5 separate regions of the Homo sapiens genome follow, and all the other regions are linked to region 3. The links are contacts of gene promoters, found by promoter capture Hi-C in human tissues and cell types (Jung and others, 2019). All regions are on one chromosome and are shown on one strand. Each heading gives the region's core, a stretch centred on a gene start or on the middle of the fragment in contact. The rest is flanking DNA. Distances are from core to core; before and after follow the strand shown.

Region 1 (2,809 bases), core at 137-2,636, 190 kb before region 3:
GGGCCCCTGGCTTGGCAGCAGCCCAGCTAGGATTTAATCCCTGAGCACTGTAGCTCCAAACCATGTGTCCTGACCACTGCGCTGTCCCCAGGAGGCACTCAGTTGTATTTGGTAGAGGATGGGGAGATACTGCCCTCCGGATTGGAAACTTAGGAGGGGCCTGGAAATGCCGATGGCACCCCTGGGCCATGTCTGCACCCTGAGCCACCCCAATCCAAACACTGCATCAGAATCCTGGCTGATGGACAGCTCTGCTTCTCTGCTCTCCCAGGGAATTGTGGTGGACGTGCCATTTGCATCCTTCTTCCTGAGCCAACTGCTTGGGCACCACCACAGCGTCTTCTATAGCTCGGTGGATGAACTGCCTTCTCTGGACTCCGAGTTCTATAAAAACCTCACCTCCATCAAGGTGAGCATGGAATGGTGGGTGAGCTAAGCCGAGCACTGGTGTGAACTCACAGCTTGCGAAGTCCCAGAAGGAGATGGCCTGTCCTCTCTTATTGCTGTTGCTGTAGCTGCTACAGGCCCCTCACATCCCCCTGTGGGCAGTCCCACTTGGGGCTGATCCTCACAACCTCCTTCCTCAAAGTCACGAATGACTTTCTTTGCGTCAAGCTGTTCAGCAGCCATGGGTGTTCCCAGCACCAAAGCAGCGCCTCAAGGGAGGGTTAAACCTCTTAAGCACATAGTGCTCCATGGCCCTAACACTTTCCCCTTCTCTGTTACATTAGCGCTATGATGGGGACATCACTGACCTGGGCCTGACGCTGTCTTACGACGAGGACGTCATGGGTCAGGTAGGTCCGCCCTTTGGCTGAGCTCCCTTTCCACTGCCCCCATGGGCTCCTGAGACCTGCCGTGTTATTTGTTTTCCTCAGAAAGAGCCCCAAGCTGAGGCTCTGTCTGGTCCCTTGTCCTCCCCACCCCTCGCCCATCCTCCTCCCCTCTTGCCAGGAGGGAGGGCCCCCTCCTTTCCTTCCCAGTTGACCTGGCCTTTGAAGCTTCCCGCAGAGACCCTGCTTTCTTATATCGCATTTTAGGGTAATTCCCCATTTGTAACATGGCTTTTCGTTACCATGGTGAGGATTAGCCGTTACAAATGGAGGATTATGTCTTAGAGAAGGGGAAGATGCCACCTGAGAAGCGCCTCAAGCTCAAGCAGAAGCCTGTCCTTGTTCATTCTCAGCATACAGAGCAGAGCAGGGAGCAGAGACCCTGGTCTCAGGGCCGCAGCACGTCTCCTCCCACGGTTCCTTCTGGCTTTTCTCTGTAGCAGCCTCCGCGCCCTTTGATTGTGTCCTGGTGGAGGTCCCTGCATGAGGCTCTGGGAGTGCAGGTCCAAGGGCCGCTCAGGAGAAACCACGCCATGAGCTTCTTAATGCAGAGCCGACTTATTAGACTCGCGCTTGGGCACCTCAGAACCCCCAGTCTCCCTGAGCCACACTTTCCATATCCATTTGCCAGATGCGAGTCCTGGATGGGCCCAGTCTGTAAGCACCGCTGGGAGCCCTGCGTGGCCTGTCCTCCTGAAAGGCCCCTGGGCAGGCTGGCACGTGAAGGCTCTGAGAAGCCTGTAAGGAGGAAACCAAAGTGGAGCTGAGTTAATCTCAAGCTTCCCTACATCCTGGGACACAGAACTCTTCTTTGAAGGAAGGAAAGAATGCTGTCTCGCAGGATCGTTCTCTACAGAATAGCTCACGGGCAGGGTGTTCCTGGAATCAGGGGAAACCTCAGGCTGGCTGATTCTTAAGGGCCCTTTCAGCTTTAAAACCCACTGGTGCCACCTGAGATGCTGACAGCAGTGGGACTGGGATCAGTGTGTTCCTTTCTAGAGCTGTAGGGTTATAGAATCTTCACAGAATTTCTATTAAAATTGGCTTCAAATGATATGTCCTTTGATTTTTAGGTGATCCACGGAAGTGTTCTTGAAGTTGAAAGAAGCAGTTGATTTTACAGAGTTTAAAATAAATCTATAATCAGATGTTGAGGCTTTATCCTGACATAATTTTTCTCCCGACTATAAAGATAATGAAACTTCTAACAAAAAAAAATTAGCTCTAATATGAGCAAAAGATGAAAAGATAATGAAACTTCTAACAAAAAAAATTAGCTCTAATATGAGCAAAAGATGAAAACGCAAGCTGCCCGTAATGCCAGTGCCCACAGGGTGCCCGTGATAGTGTGTTACCTGCGTCCCTTGAGACTCTTTCCCGAGTCTCCCTTTCCAGAAATGATGCCATTCTGTGCATGTTGTTACATCAGTGGCCTTTTTTCACCTTTTTAGTAAACGCACATTTTCATCATATTGTTTAGTACCTGCACAGTATTCCAGGGTATGGATGTACCAGTGTTTATTTAACCGTCCTACTCTACTCCGAAATGCCAACACATTCCCCTCCATGACATCCCGAAGTCTTAATACAAATGTTTGAACAAGGATTGGGTGAGAAAAAAACCTTTTGTATTGATCATGCAGGGTCTGCTTGTTGATATTTCAGCCTTGACTTTTTATGAGAAAGGATGGTTCCCAAGCATGTGCCATCTTAATTCCATCATTATCATGGATGTTTGTGCTGGGCCCTCTCATCTCCGGGAAGCTTTATTTCCCCATTAGAGTCCTCCCTATTAATTACTCCCATCTTCTCCCCCAGCTTGTTTGCCATGAACTGATTCCTGGAGGGAAGACCATTCCTGTTACAAATGAAAATAAGTGAGTATAGCAATTAGGTTTTTAAGGTCACCACTTGAAAAGACTTCATTCTGGCTCTCTGCGCTTATGTTGAGAATTTATTAAGATAGATTGAAGTAG
Region 2 (2,700 bases), core at 105-2,604, 170 kb after region 3:
ACTGTCTTAAGATCTCCTGTCTTTGGGTTTCAGGTGGACTCTGCCCTGGGGGCTGGTATTTTCCTGCAAGGCCACCAAGTGAACCAGCAGGACAGGACAGAGCCCACATGGAGAAGGAGAATAGAGGCTCAGGTTGCACCCTTTACCCGGGACCCAAAAGGCAAAGGGCAGGGGCAGTGGTGCTGGCTTCTAGTTCCCATTTTCCATCTGGGGCCTTGGCTGGACTGGGCTAGGCTGAGGGAGTGCGGGAAGAGGGTCTGAAAGTGGACCGCCTTCCCAATGCGCCCAGGAACTTCCACACGACATACAGGGGAGGGGCTTCCTCTCGTAGAGCCCAAACTGAGGGAGGAATTGGTGCCAAGCTCTGTATGTCTGATGTCACCTCACAAAACAGCTCCCCCGACAACCCTCACCCCTGTCCTAAAAGGAGGAAAAACTTTAGGTGGTTTCCCCTAGAAAGAGGCCCTGGAATTTTGCAACTCCATCTTCAAAACCCTCTCCTTGTCCCCGCCTCACCAGGCTTCCTACCCTTGGAGGGGGAGATGGGAGTCTTTGATCTGGAATGGGCGAATTCTGAGGGAAGAAGGAAGGGTTTGTAGGTCCCATGAGGGAGAGGCTGGAAGCGTTCAAAGAGAAGGCTTATGAAATGGGGGGATTCATTGTAAGGGGAGCGAGTTGAGAGCCATCAGAAAGCGCCAGGGATGAAGGACTTTGGGGAAGAAGGGGCAGGAGGCTTTGGGGGAGATGGTGGATTACAGAATGCCTAAGGGAGATGGAAGATCATCCGTGTTGGGGGCACGGATGATCAGGGGGCATTTGGGGGATATGTAGGACTGTGAGGTGTCTAGGGAGAGGGAGGATTTGGGGAGGACAGGCAGGATGTGACATGTTTAGAGCGGAGAGGACTTGGGAGTGGTCCGGGAAAGGGAGAATTTAGGGTGAGTGGAGGGAAAGAGGATCTTGGGTGCCTGGGGAAACAGTACTTAGGGGTGTCTAGGGCAGAGATGGTTAGGGGATGCTCGGGGGAAGGAGGATTCGGGTGCGCGTGGGGCTGCGGGCCGCCTCCCCCCTCCATTCCGGCTCACCGAAGAAGGGCGGCAGGTGGGACACCGCCTCGAGGAAGGGCCCGGTCTCGATCTGCTTGTCCGCGGGCAGCGGCTTCAGCAAGTGTTCGGCCAGCAGCGCCATTTCGGGGTCGAGGCCCGCGGTGATGCCCCAGCCGGCGCCGCGGGCGTCGACACCGCCCCCCCGGCCGCCGCCGTCAGCGCCGGGGCCGTCACAGCCGCCCGCCGCAGGCTCCGGGGACGCCAGCGTCGCCACTTCCGCCCGCACGGCGCCCTCGTAGCCGAGCGCTCAGCGCCGCCCGCCGGCCGAGCGCCTAAACTGCCGGGCGCGCCGCCCCGCCCCCGCTCACCGGCTCCCAATCCGCGCCCGCCGCCGAGGTCTCCGCGCCCCCATTGGCCGGGGGGCCGGCCGGGGGCGGGACGCAGAGGAGGTGCGCCGGTTCATGGGTCCCGGAGGGCCCAAGTGAGCCGCTCCCAGGTGAGTCTTCCCCAGGTGTGCCTCCCGCCGCCCCCGGTTTGGCCCCCCAATCCGGGCGGGCCGACTCGGGCCAGGTCACAGCTCACAACCCGCCCACCAGCTCGGGTTACAGCCCCACCCAGCCAACGCTCCCCAGGACCCCCGTTTCCCCCAAAATTGTACCCCAGTAACCCCAAGTGACCTGGGTGGACACTGCTCTCCTGTTGGTCACGGTTCTCTTTCGCTACAACCGACGAGGACGCTCGATTGCTTGATTCTTGGTCTTCAATGACCTTATACCTGTTGAACACTGCTGAAGTCACAGTCTAACTCAGCCACTGCCCTGCTGGACAACTCCTGCTTCCCGAAATCTGGGGTCCAGTCTGCCCTCAACAGTCTGATGTTACCTGTTGTGAGGCAGAAAAATAGGGCCTGGAGGCAGGGAACATAAGGCTGACTTCCTAGACCTAAATCAAAAAGCACCTTAGCAATGACAGGAATGTAAACGGCTTTGCAACTTCACTTCATCCTCTCCATTCACGCCCTTTACACTTTGTAACTTCACATTCATCCTCTCCATTTACACAGACCACACACTCCAAGAAACATCCTCTCCATTTATACTTTGTAACTTCACATTCATCCTCTCCCACCAAGTAACATCCTCTCCATTTGCACATCCTCTCCATTTGCAATAGGGCACATTCTGAGTAAATGACTCTGTGACTTCACTTCATTCTCTTCATTTACATAGAATATTCACCAAGTAACCAATGGGAAACCTCTAGAGTATTGAGACCCTAGAAAATTCTGTAAGCAGAGCTCTTGAGCCTCTACGCTCAAGCCTGCTCCCAAACTGTGGGGTGGACTTTTCGTTCTCAGTAAATCCTTGCTTTTGCTTTCCTTGCTTCGTTTGTGTGTTTTCTCCAAGATGCCAAGTACCTGGACACCTTCTACTGGTAACAGCTGGAGCCAGCCCAGTTTATACCAATTCACCCACAACCTGGACACTTGTTTCCCAAACCTAATGTCTCTCCAACAGCCCAGGGTCCAGCTTCTCACACCTTGAATCACAAGTCATCTCAGCCACAACCCACCTAGATGCTTATGTCCTAAACCCAATGCCCAGCTTATGCAAAAATCTAACACACCATTGTTGAGAGCCTCTTATTCATTCCA
Region 3 (2,700 bases), core at 28-2,527:
AGAATTCATTTTGCCCTCAAATCTACGCTGTAAGGTAGGAATTATGATGCCCCCCATTTCACAGACAAGAAACTGAGGCGCAGACCCGTGAAGGTAAATGGCCAAGACCAACAACCAGCAAGGGCAGGGCTGCAATCCCACCCAGTTTCGGTGGGACTCCAGGTATCACACGGGCATAGCCTGAGGGGTGGGGGGTCTGACTGCTGCTCTGCATTTCTGTGGGGATCTTTGTTATTATCCCGGAAAGCTGGCTTCCTACAGTGCTGTGTGATGGACACACAGCAACTGAGGGAACTGCCCCACCCAGGACTCAATTTCCCCATCTGTAAATGAGACTGCTAGACGGGCCGCCCATGGGCTGTGAGAACCCAGGAAGCTTCTTTAAAAGTAAAAGGGAAAGCACAGTATAGTTTGATAGATTCATATTTGAACCCCAGGTTGATGTGAAACTATGCCTCAGTTTCCCTATCTATTAAGTGGGGGAGTAGGCTAGTGCCTGTCTCCTGTGGGCGTGGGGTACGTCTAGAAGGTGTAGCTTGCAAATTGCTCAGCGCTGTGCTGGGTTATATAGTTAGCGCTCCACAGATCACAACTGTGATGCCAAAAACACATCGCTGCCAAAAATAAGCCTTAGGACAAAAACATCCAGGACCATGTCACTTCACATCTCCTTACCTCAGTTTCCTCTGTAAGTTGGAAGTATAATAATAGTACCTACCGTATCAGTTTTCTCATCTGTAAAATGGGGGTGATAGTAATACCCACTCACACGGTGTTGTGAGGATTAGATAAAATACTTTGCTACATAAGTGTTAGCTATAGTTGTTATTTTTAACAAATTCCTCATGAGGTTGGTTTTTGCCAAGATTAAATGAAATAATGCCGATAATGCACTTATACAGTGCCTTGTCCCAAATATGTGATCAGTAAATGACACTGGTTTTGCCACCCCTAGTGGGACTACAAAAACCAGCACGCCCTGCGCCCCCAGTCGGGGCCCCTCCACCCGGCGCCGGCGCGCAGCATGCCGGGAGTTGCAGTCCTCGCGAGGCAAGTTCCGCCTCGTCCCTGCTTGGGGGAGGAGGTTGGAGAGCCGCCCTGCCGGCCTTTGAATTTTGCCGCGAAAAGCGCGCGTGGCGGCCCCCGGCTCCGCCCCTCGCAGGACGCGGTGCCGCGTCACCCTGGTAACCGCCTCTCAGCCGCCGCTGATTGGGCTGGGCCGCGGGGGGCGGGCGGGGGACGAGACGCGGGGGCTGCTGCCGGCGCTCGCGCCTGTCAGTCGGGCCAGAGCGGAGCAGCGGGCAGGACTGCCTGGCCGGCTGCTCCGCGGAGAGGCTGCGCGCGCCGGCCGGGGGAGGCGGACAGCCGGGCCCGGCGCCTGTGGGGCGCGGCGCGCGGCACCCGGGCCTGAGACCAGGCGAGGCGCCGGCGCGCGCCAGACGGCGCGAGGCTGCGGCCCCGGGAGCCCCCGCGCGCCGCCCGGGGCCATGGGCGCGTGAGAGCCCAGCGCGCGCGGCCCCTGCTGCGGCTTGCGAGCTCGCACACCCGGTGCACAGTCCCCCGGGCCGTCCTCGTGTCCGTCCTGCGCCACTGGGATCGGCTGTTTCTCAGCGCCGAGGCCCCCGAGGCTGCATCCGAGCTTGCGTCGCCCGCTGCCGCCGCCGCCGCCGCTGCCGCCGCCGCTGTTCGCCGGCTTCCCCTCCCCCCACACCCGGGGCTCAGAGCAGGAGGAGGAGGGGCCGGTGCATTCTCGCCGCTGTTCTTTGCAACCTGCAGGGGCCGGTGTATGTCCGGCGAGGAGCCGGGGCCGCTGCGGGTGCGTGCAACCCCCGAAGGAGACAATCCCTCCACCTCGGGGCGAACCCGGGGGCTGCAAGCCGCGGGCGGGCGGGCGAGCGAGAGGAAGCAACAAAGACAGGCTGCAGCTGGGGCTGGCGAAAGGGGCCGCGGCCGCCGGGCTCCCAGCGCGGGCGGAGAGGGCGCCCTGGGAGCGGCGCGGGCCGAGCTGCAGCCTTGAGCGGGGCCCCGAGGGGAGGCGCAGCGCCGCCCGCCGGACGTGGCGATCACGGGCCCCGGCGAAGATGCGTCGCCTGAGCGCCCGCGCGGCCCCCGTCCGGGGCGGGCGTGACCCCTGCTGAACGGAGACCTCCCCTCCCCCCCGACTTCGGACGGCGCAGGCCGGCGCCAGGATAGCCCTCACCGACAGCGCCCCTTCCCACCCGGAGAGAGGCATCGACCCCCAAGGAGGGCTTCGTCAGGCAGCCTCTGCCACTCCTGCATGGCTGCGACCCGTCGAGCGGAGCGTCGTGGTAGCTGAGACCTGGTGCCCTTCGACGGCCTGGCTGATCCGGTGAGTTGTGCGGGGCGGGGTTCTGCGCTGGAGCTGGGGGCACCCCCTGGCGTCCGGGCAGCCAGGATTGGACAGAAGGGGTCCTAGGCTGTTGGGGGTCCTGAAGCAGAGATAACCCTTGTCCGCCCCTTTCCTCCCTCCAAACACAACTTGTTCAGATGGGCCAGCCGATGGGAGTGGAGGTTGGGGGGCCCATTCGGATTCCGCGGGACCCTGGGCGGGTTGGTTGCCAGAGAGGAAAGGTCACCCCACCCGTAAAGCTAACAAAGGTATTGGCTGTGTCATCCGAAAATTCCCCGGGAACTCCAGTGTCTTGGAAGGGCTGGGGGGTGGGGGGCACCCAGGATGGG
Region 4 (2,717 bases), core at 40-2,539, 210 kb before region 3:
GAAATGCTCTTCCTTTTCCAGGGTGGGATTTGGCAGCTGGCTGAGCTGCTGCTCACATGTCTTCTTTTCTCCATGCCAGGTCTCCTAAAGCGTGCTTTTCAAAAGTCGGCATCAGTCCGGAATATTCTCAGGCCTGTCGGGGGTAAACGGGTCGACTCTGCAGAAGTCCAGAAGGTTTGCAACATCTGTGTCCTCTACCAGACCTCGCTGACAACTCTCACACAGATTCGGCTGCAGATACTCACAGGTTCGCAGTCCCCAGGGCATCTTCTTCACCTCTCACATTTGGCAGACAGTTTGTCTTAGCAAAAGTCGATGTTTTTTTCTGGCTTCTTTGACTCTGAAAATAGATTCTGAAGGAGGGCATTTTTGAGCTGTTCCTCTTAGAGATTAGTCCACCTCAGTTACATTGCTCATGCTCACCTCAATCATAAGCACTTGCATCTCATTCCTGTTTTGTGACTCTTACTTTAATTATGAAGTAGAATTTACTTTTAAAAAGTTTCTGTTTTCTGAGTAAAGAAGCAAAAAAGATAGGGTTGCAAAAAAAAAAGGAAAAAGAAAACCACTTTTAATTCCATAATCCAAAAACAGTCAACTGTGCCTGAGTGTACTGCACATATAAAATAAATATATTTAAATTGAAATATACAGCACTATGCTTTCCTTTCCAATAATCATTTTACCATGTCACAAATTCTTCGAAAACCTTATCTTTATTGGCTACATAGTATCTCATCACATGGATATGCCCAACATTTTCCTTTTTAGCTTAACATGGAGGAAAGTCCCCTCTGTGAGCACAGAATTGGGTATCACAGGCTTTTAGGTTGCAGCACAGTTGTTGTTATGAATTGGTCTTACAAGTACAAAAGGCCTTTGTAAACCGTGGAAGCCTTTTATTACATGAAGGATTAAGAGCTTCTCTGCTGCATTTTACATTTTTTAACATCATAAATCACTGCTTCTCTTTCACACTTATTTATCCATTCTTCAAATATTTATTGAGCACCCCTGTGTGCCAGGCACTGAGGATACAGAGGTGAAAGAGAGAGCCAAGTTCTTCGTTCTCAAGGGGATTGTATTCTAGTAGTGGGGAGACTGAAAATAAGCAAGTAAAAAGTAGGGCTCATGTAATGATGGGCACTGTGAGAATGAAAATGCTGAGAGATGATGTTGGCCTGGGCTACAGCAGGATTTCTCAGCCTTAGCATTATGGATGTCTTGGGCTGGCCCATTCTTTGTCATGAGGGGCTGTCTTGTGTGTTTTGGGATGTTTAGCAGCCCTGGTCCCTACTCATAGATGCCAGTAGCACCTTCCCAACCAGCGTGACAGCCAAACATATCTTCAAATTTGGCATTCAGCCAAATGCCCCCTGGGAGGCAAAATCATTCCTGGTTGAAAGCCACTGGCCTAGTTTAGTAGCAATGGAGATTAAGGCAGGAGGATTTAGATTTGTTTTAGAGGTAGAAGATATGGGTCTTACTGGTAGCTTGGATTTGGGAGCATGAGGACTGAGGGTTTTAAAGAAGATACCAGGTTGTTGGCCCAACCACCTGTGTGGATGGTAGCACTGTTTGCTGAGCTGGAGAAGACCGGGGGCAGGGCCTGTGAGGAGTCTGTTGTGTTGTGGCTGTGACAAGGGAAAGGGGCCTGCTGGGCATGCTGGCAGAGGTGACACTCTGGGAGCATCAGCTGAGGGATGGAGTGTAAAGCCATGGGCTTTCAGCCTAGGGCAGGTTTCCCAAAGATGAGCAGAGGGAGGAGAGAAGGGGCAAGACCATACCTGGGGTACCCCAGCGCCTGAGGGTTTGAGCAGCATCTTGAGTGAGAGGAGTTTGGGGTTGTGGTTTGTGTCCAGCTTTTTTTTTTTTTTTCGAGACGGAGTCTCACTCTGTCGCCCAGGCTGTAGTGCAGTAGCGCAATCTCGGCTCAACTGCAGGCTCCGCCTCCCAGGTTCACGCCATTCTCCTGCCTCAGCCTCCCGAGTAGCTGGGATTACAGGCGCCTGCCACCATGCCCGGCTAATTTTTTTTTTGTATTTTTAGTTGAGACGGGGTTTCACTGTGTTAGCCAGGATGGTCTCGATCTCCTGTGTGTCCAGCTTTTTAAATGAGCTCACATTGAAGCTCATTTTCCCAAGTGAGAGAATCCAAATACAGGTTTTTTAGTCAACTTGAAAATATACACTTTAAGGATAAAGATAAACTAGTCTAAAGTGTATGTTTGATATTCAGTCTATTTAGCAACTTAGATTATAGAAAATAACGCTTGTTTTTAAAATACTGCTGTTTTTCTACTGACAACTTAGGAAGTGTCTGTTTGTGCTCCTCACACACATCTGATAGCACTGGCACTGCTGCTGGTCTGTCTGCCATTGCTCTGCCAGGCCCAGTGTCTCCATCTCTGTCTAAATGGCTAGATATGCAGCCCTTGTTGAATCAGTGTGTGATGCTATGAGCATTCTAGTCTACGCTACATGAGTCCTTTACACAGAACTCGAGGACACTTGCTTTTCTTCTTTTATCCCATAGGAGTATATTTGTGATCTCCACAGTGTTAACTGTTTCCTCTGTTTCTATTTTAACCTATTTTTGAATTGTGAGAGTTCCACATTCTTGGGTGTGTTTGATATAACATGGACAGTTGAAAGACTAGTTATGAGTGGGGCACCTATGTCATCACCAACAGATCAAGAAAGTCTTGCTTCTAAAGG
Region 5 (2,700 bases), core at 177-2,676, 170 kb before region 3:
GTGGTCTTTATCAGCCAGGGCAACAGAAGCCAGCTCTGCCTCACTTAGAAAAGAAATGTATTGGGCAGTATTGAGGGCTGGAAGCCCAGGCCACAAGCAGAATGGGAGCCAGGGCAGTTCAGGGGACCTGTGCAGTTCAGCCTGAAGCTGGGTCTCTTTAGGATGCTGTGGGCGTGAATGAACCAGCTCCAGCCAGCAACCCATCCTCGCTCAGTGCATGCAGGGGTCTTTAGGGAAATTCAGAGAAAATTCAGGGATTGAAGTAGACTGGGCAAGGCACTGATGTCATTCATTCTTTCATACTCATTTCAATAAATATTTTTGGGCACCTGCTGTGTGCACAGCCTGTTCTAGGCACTGGGATTCAATCTCATTTTGTTGTTCTTGAGACTGAGTCTCATTCTGTTGCCCAGGCTGGCAATGTGGCACGATCTCGGCTCGCTGCAACTTCTGCCTCCTGGGCTCAGGTGATCCTCCCACCTCAGCCTCCCGAGTGGCTGGAACTACAGGTGCACGCCACCACACCTGGCTAATTTTTGTATTTTTTGTAAAGACAGAGTTTTGCAATGTTGCTCAGGCTGGTGTTGAACTCCTGGGCTCAAGCGATCCTCCTGCCTCAGCCTCCCAAACTGCTGGGATTACAGGTGTGAGACACCACACCCAGCCGGATTCAGAGTATTTTGAGAGAGACAGACACCAAAGGAGAAACCAATAAGATAATTTCTGGTGTGTTGAAAATGAGACAAAGAGCCCCATGGAGATTGTATCCCATGGGAAGAAGTAAATCCTCAAAAAGAAATTGAAGCAATTGGATGGTGGGTCCCCAAACAGCAAATATCCACAAGAGGCGTCCTGCCCACACTGGCCCCAGGGCAGTGATCAGGATTCAGATTCCAGAACTAGACTAGAATTCAAATCTAGCCTCAGCCACTTTCTCATCACGACCTGGAGCAAGTCACTTCGTCTTTCCAAGCTTGCAAAATTGGGATGATCACTCTTCCCTGGTTGCTGAGATCAAACAAGGTCATACATGCAGTGCCGGCCATGCAGGCATCATCGAGTTCCATCCTGAGAACTCGATCACGTCCTGGGTGCATGTGCGCGTACGCGCGCACACACATGTACACACGCACACGCATGCATGCATGCACGGTGGGGCACCCAAGCCGATGCCCGCTCCTCGAGGCTGGGGGCTATGCATGCCTGACCCTCTGGTGTATTCAATTATAGGTTTAGCCACATTCATTCCTCCCTCCTTGTAGGTAAGATTTATTAAAATACCCAATCACAGAAATAGCCCTGCTCCCTGACAGCAGCCAACCCACAGCGAAACCACGTTTCCTTGAACCCTCCCCCAAACCCCAACACACGCCAAAACCCTATAATAAGTCCTTGCACAGACCCTCTTCCTGAGGCACCCCAGGTTCCCCACGGTGCGCGTGCTCCCTTATTGCAACAAGACAATAAATCTGACTTTGTTCGACTACAGGTGTGTTCTTGGTGGTCTTTGGCTGCAGGGCACTTTAAACCCAAAAATGTCCCCTGTACAAAATATTTGCAGCCACTTCAGGGGAGGGGAGCTGGAACTGGTTTGTCACACAGCTGGGAACAGCACCCCAGGGAACAACGCAATCAAAAGGAGGTGGTTTCCAGAGCTGCAGTCCCTAGACTGGGGATGGAGTGGGGGTGCGGGATGTCACACCATTTCTCACTGGCTTTAGTCTTAACTTTTCGTGCTTTAATGTGAAATGTAATTACAGATTCAGAGTTATGGTGGTGAGCTCGTCAGGGCTAATTAATTAGTCAGATTTATAAGTATTTGGTTCTCAGAGATCAATGACCCTGATGGGTCGCCTGAAAGCTCTGAGAAATCCCCTTCCTGATAGCTAGTTTTCTTGGGGAGCGGTGGGCTTGGGAGAGCTGCTTTTGCTTTGGCGGCTGGTTGAGAGGGACAGCCTGACCACTCTCAAGCAGCCTGGAGACCATAGGTGCCTCTGAAGTCCCCACACCTTTGAGATCTGTGAGGGCTCTGCCCTAGGAATCAGAAATGTCAAATAGAGGCCACTCGCTCCGCTGCCTCTCCCAGAGGCCACGGCAGACATTAGTAATGGATTCCCAAACCCCTCCCTGTTGAATCTGGACCCAGCACAGCCTGCCAGGCAATCACTTGGAATTGGTGTCTCTTTCCTACCCCTGGGATAAGTCCTTCCCTGCTCTCAGCAGAACAGAAGAGAAAGGAAACTGGATTTTGACACCAGAGGCTGGGATTGAGGTGGGTTTTGCCACTTGCTAACTGGCACACTGGGCTCATCACACTACCTATGGGGGTGCCACTTATCCAGGAAGAGTTAGGGTGATAATCCAGGATGAAAATCTCTATGAGATCACAAACATGAAGGTTCTCTGTCTACTCTCAACCCCTGTACAAGATAAAGATGGGGCAACCAACAGAGGAGGAAGAGATGCCAACATCTCAACATAGTGGGGAAAAGCTGGCGCAGCGATCCCCCAGGGGCAGCTCAGTGGAGGCAGGTTCATTTTTCTTTCAACCTCTTTTGCCCTAGAATGGAAGCCAGGCTTCTACATGCACGCTGGACTCTGCACAGCCAGCTGCCTCCGACAGGGAAAACGGTGCACATTCTCCAGGCTTCCAGACTTCGGGGCTCCCTGATGGCTTTGGCTACTGGAGGGTACCCTCCC

The links. The method cuts DNA at HindIII sites, captures the fragments that hold promoters and counts their contacts. A contact is called where the count stands out against the background at its distance.
Region 1: a fragment that was not itself captured here is called in contact with the fragment with the promoter of FAM222A in region 3 in 8 of the 25 tissues and cell types used here (H1 embryonic stem cells, adrenal gland, dorsolateral prefrontal cortex and 5 more).
Region 2: the fragment with the promoter of GLTP here is called in contact with the fragment with the promoter of FAM222A in region 3 in 2 of the 25 tissues and cell types used here (IMR-90 fibroblasts and hippocampus).
Region 4: a fragment that was not itself captured here is called in contact with the fragment with the promoter of FAM222A in region 3 in 1 of the 25 tissues and cell types used here (IMR-90 fibroblasts).
Region 5: a contact is called between a fragment that was not itself captured here and the fragment with the promoter of FAM222A in region 3, in 4 of the 25 tissues and cell types used here (IMR-90 fibroblasts, aorta, bladder and 1 more).

What each region holds. Positions count from the first base shown.
Region 1 is chr12:109,523,707-109,526,515 of GRCh38, forward strand. It overlaps UBE3B (ubiquitin protein ligase E3B), which reads left to right. Exons shown (of 28, transcript NM_130466.4): 22 at 272-409; 23 at 732-797; 24 at 2,652-2,710. Among named protein-coding and RNA genes, the nearest start is that of UBE3B, 47 kb to the left of the region's middle. The HindIII fragment of the contact is 3,674 bases long and covers 1-2,809 here.
Region 2 is chr12:109,879,187-109,881,886 of GRCh38, forward strand. It overlaps GLTP (glycolipid transfer protein), which reads right to left and starts at 1,355. Exons shown (of 5, transcript NM_016433.4): 1 at 1,086-1,355. The coding sequence starts at 1,188. LOC124903012 (a long non-coding RNA gene) reads right to left here and starts at 2,215. Exons shown (of 3, transcript XR_007063455.1): 1 at 2,175-2,215; 2 at 1,929-1,988; 3 at 1,712-1,821. It also overlaps a transcript of TCHP not described here. RefSeq lists a silencer at 1,063-1,612 and an enhancer at 1,937-2,438. The HindIII fragment of the contact is 8,000 bases long and covers 1-2,700 here.
Region 3 is chr12:109,712,548-109,715,247 of GRCh38, forward strand. FAM222A (family with sequence similarity 222 member A) reads left to right here and starts at 1,278. Exons shown (of 3, transcript NM_032829.3): 1 at 1,278-2,350. RefSeq lists an enhancer at 1-303 and silencers at 1,009-1,338, 1,369-1,418. The HindIII fragment of the contact is 9,746 bases long and covers 1-2,700 here.
Region 4 is chr12:109,502,944-109,505,660 of GRCh38, forward strand. It overlaps UBE3B (ubiquitin protein ligase E3B), which reads left to right. Exons shown (of 28, transcript NM_130466.4): 14 at 80-247. Among named protein-coding and RNA genes, the nearest start is that of UBE3B, 27 kb to the left of the region's middle. The HindIII fragment of the contact is 5,281 bases long and covers 1-2,717 here.
Region 5 is chr12:109,546,344-109,549,043 of GRCh38, forward strand. It overlaps a transcript of UBE3B not described here. Among named protein-coding and RNA genes, the nearest start is that of MMAB, 26 kb to the right of the region's middle. The HindIII fragment of the contact is 3,690 bases long and covers 1-2,700 here.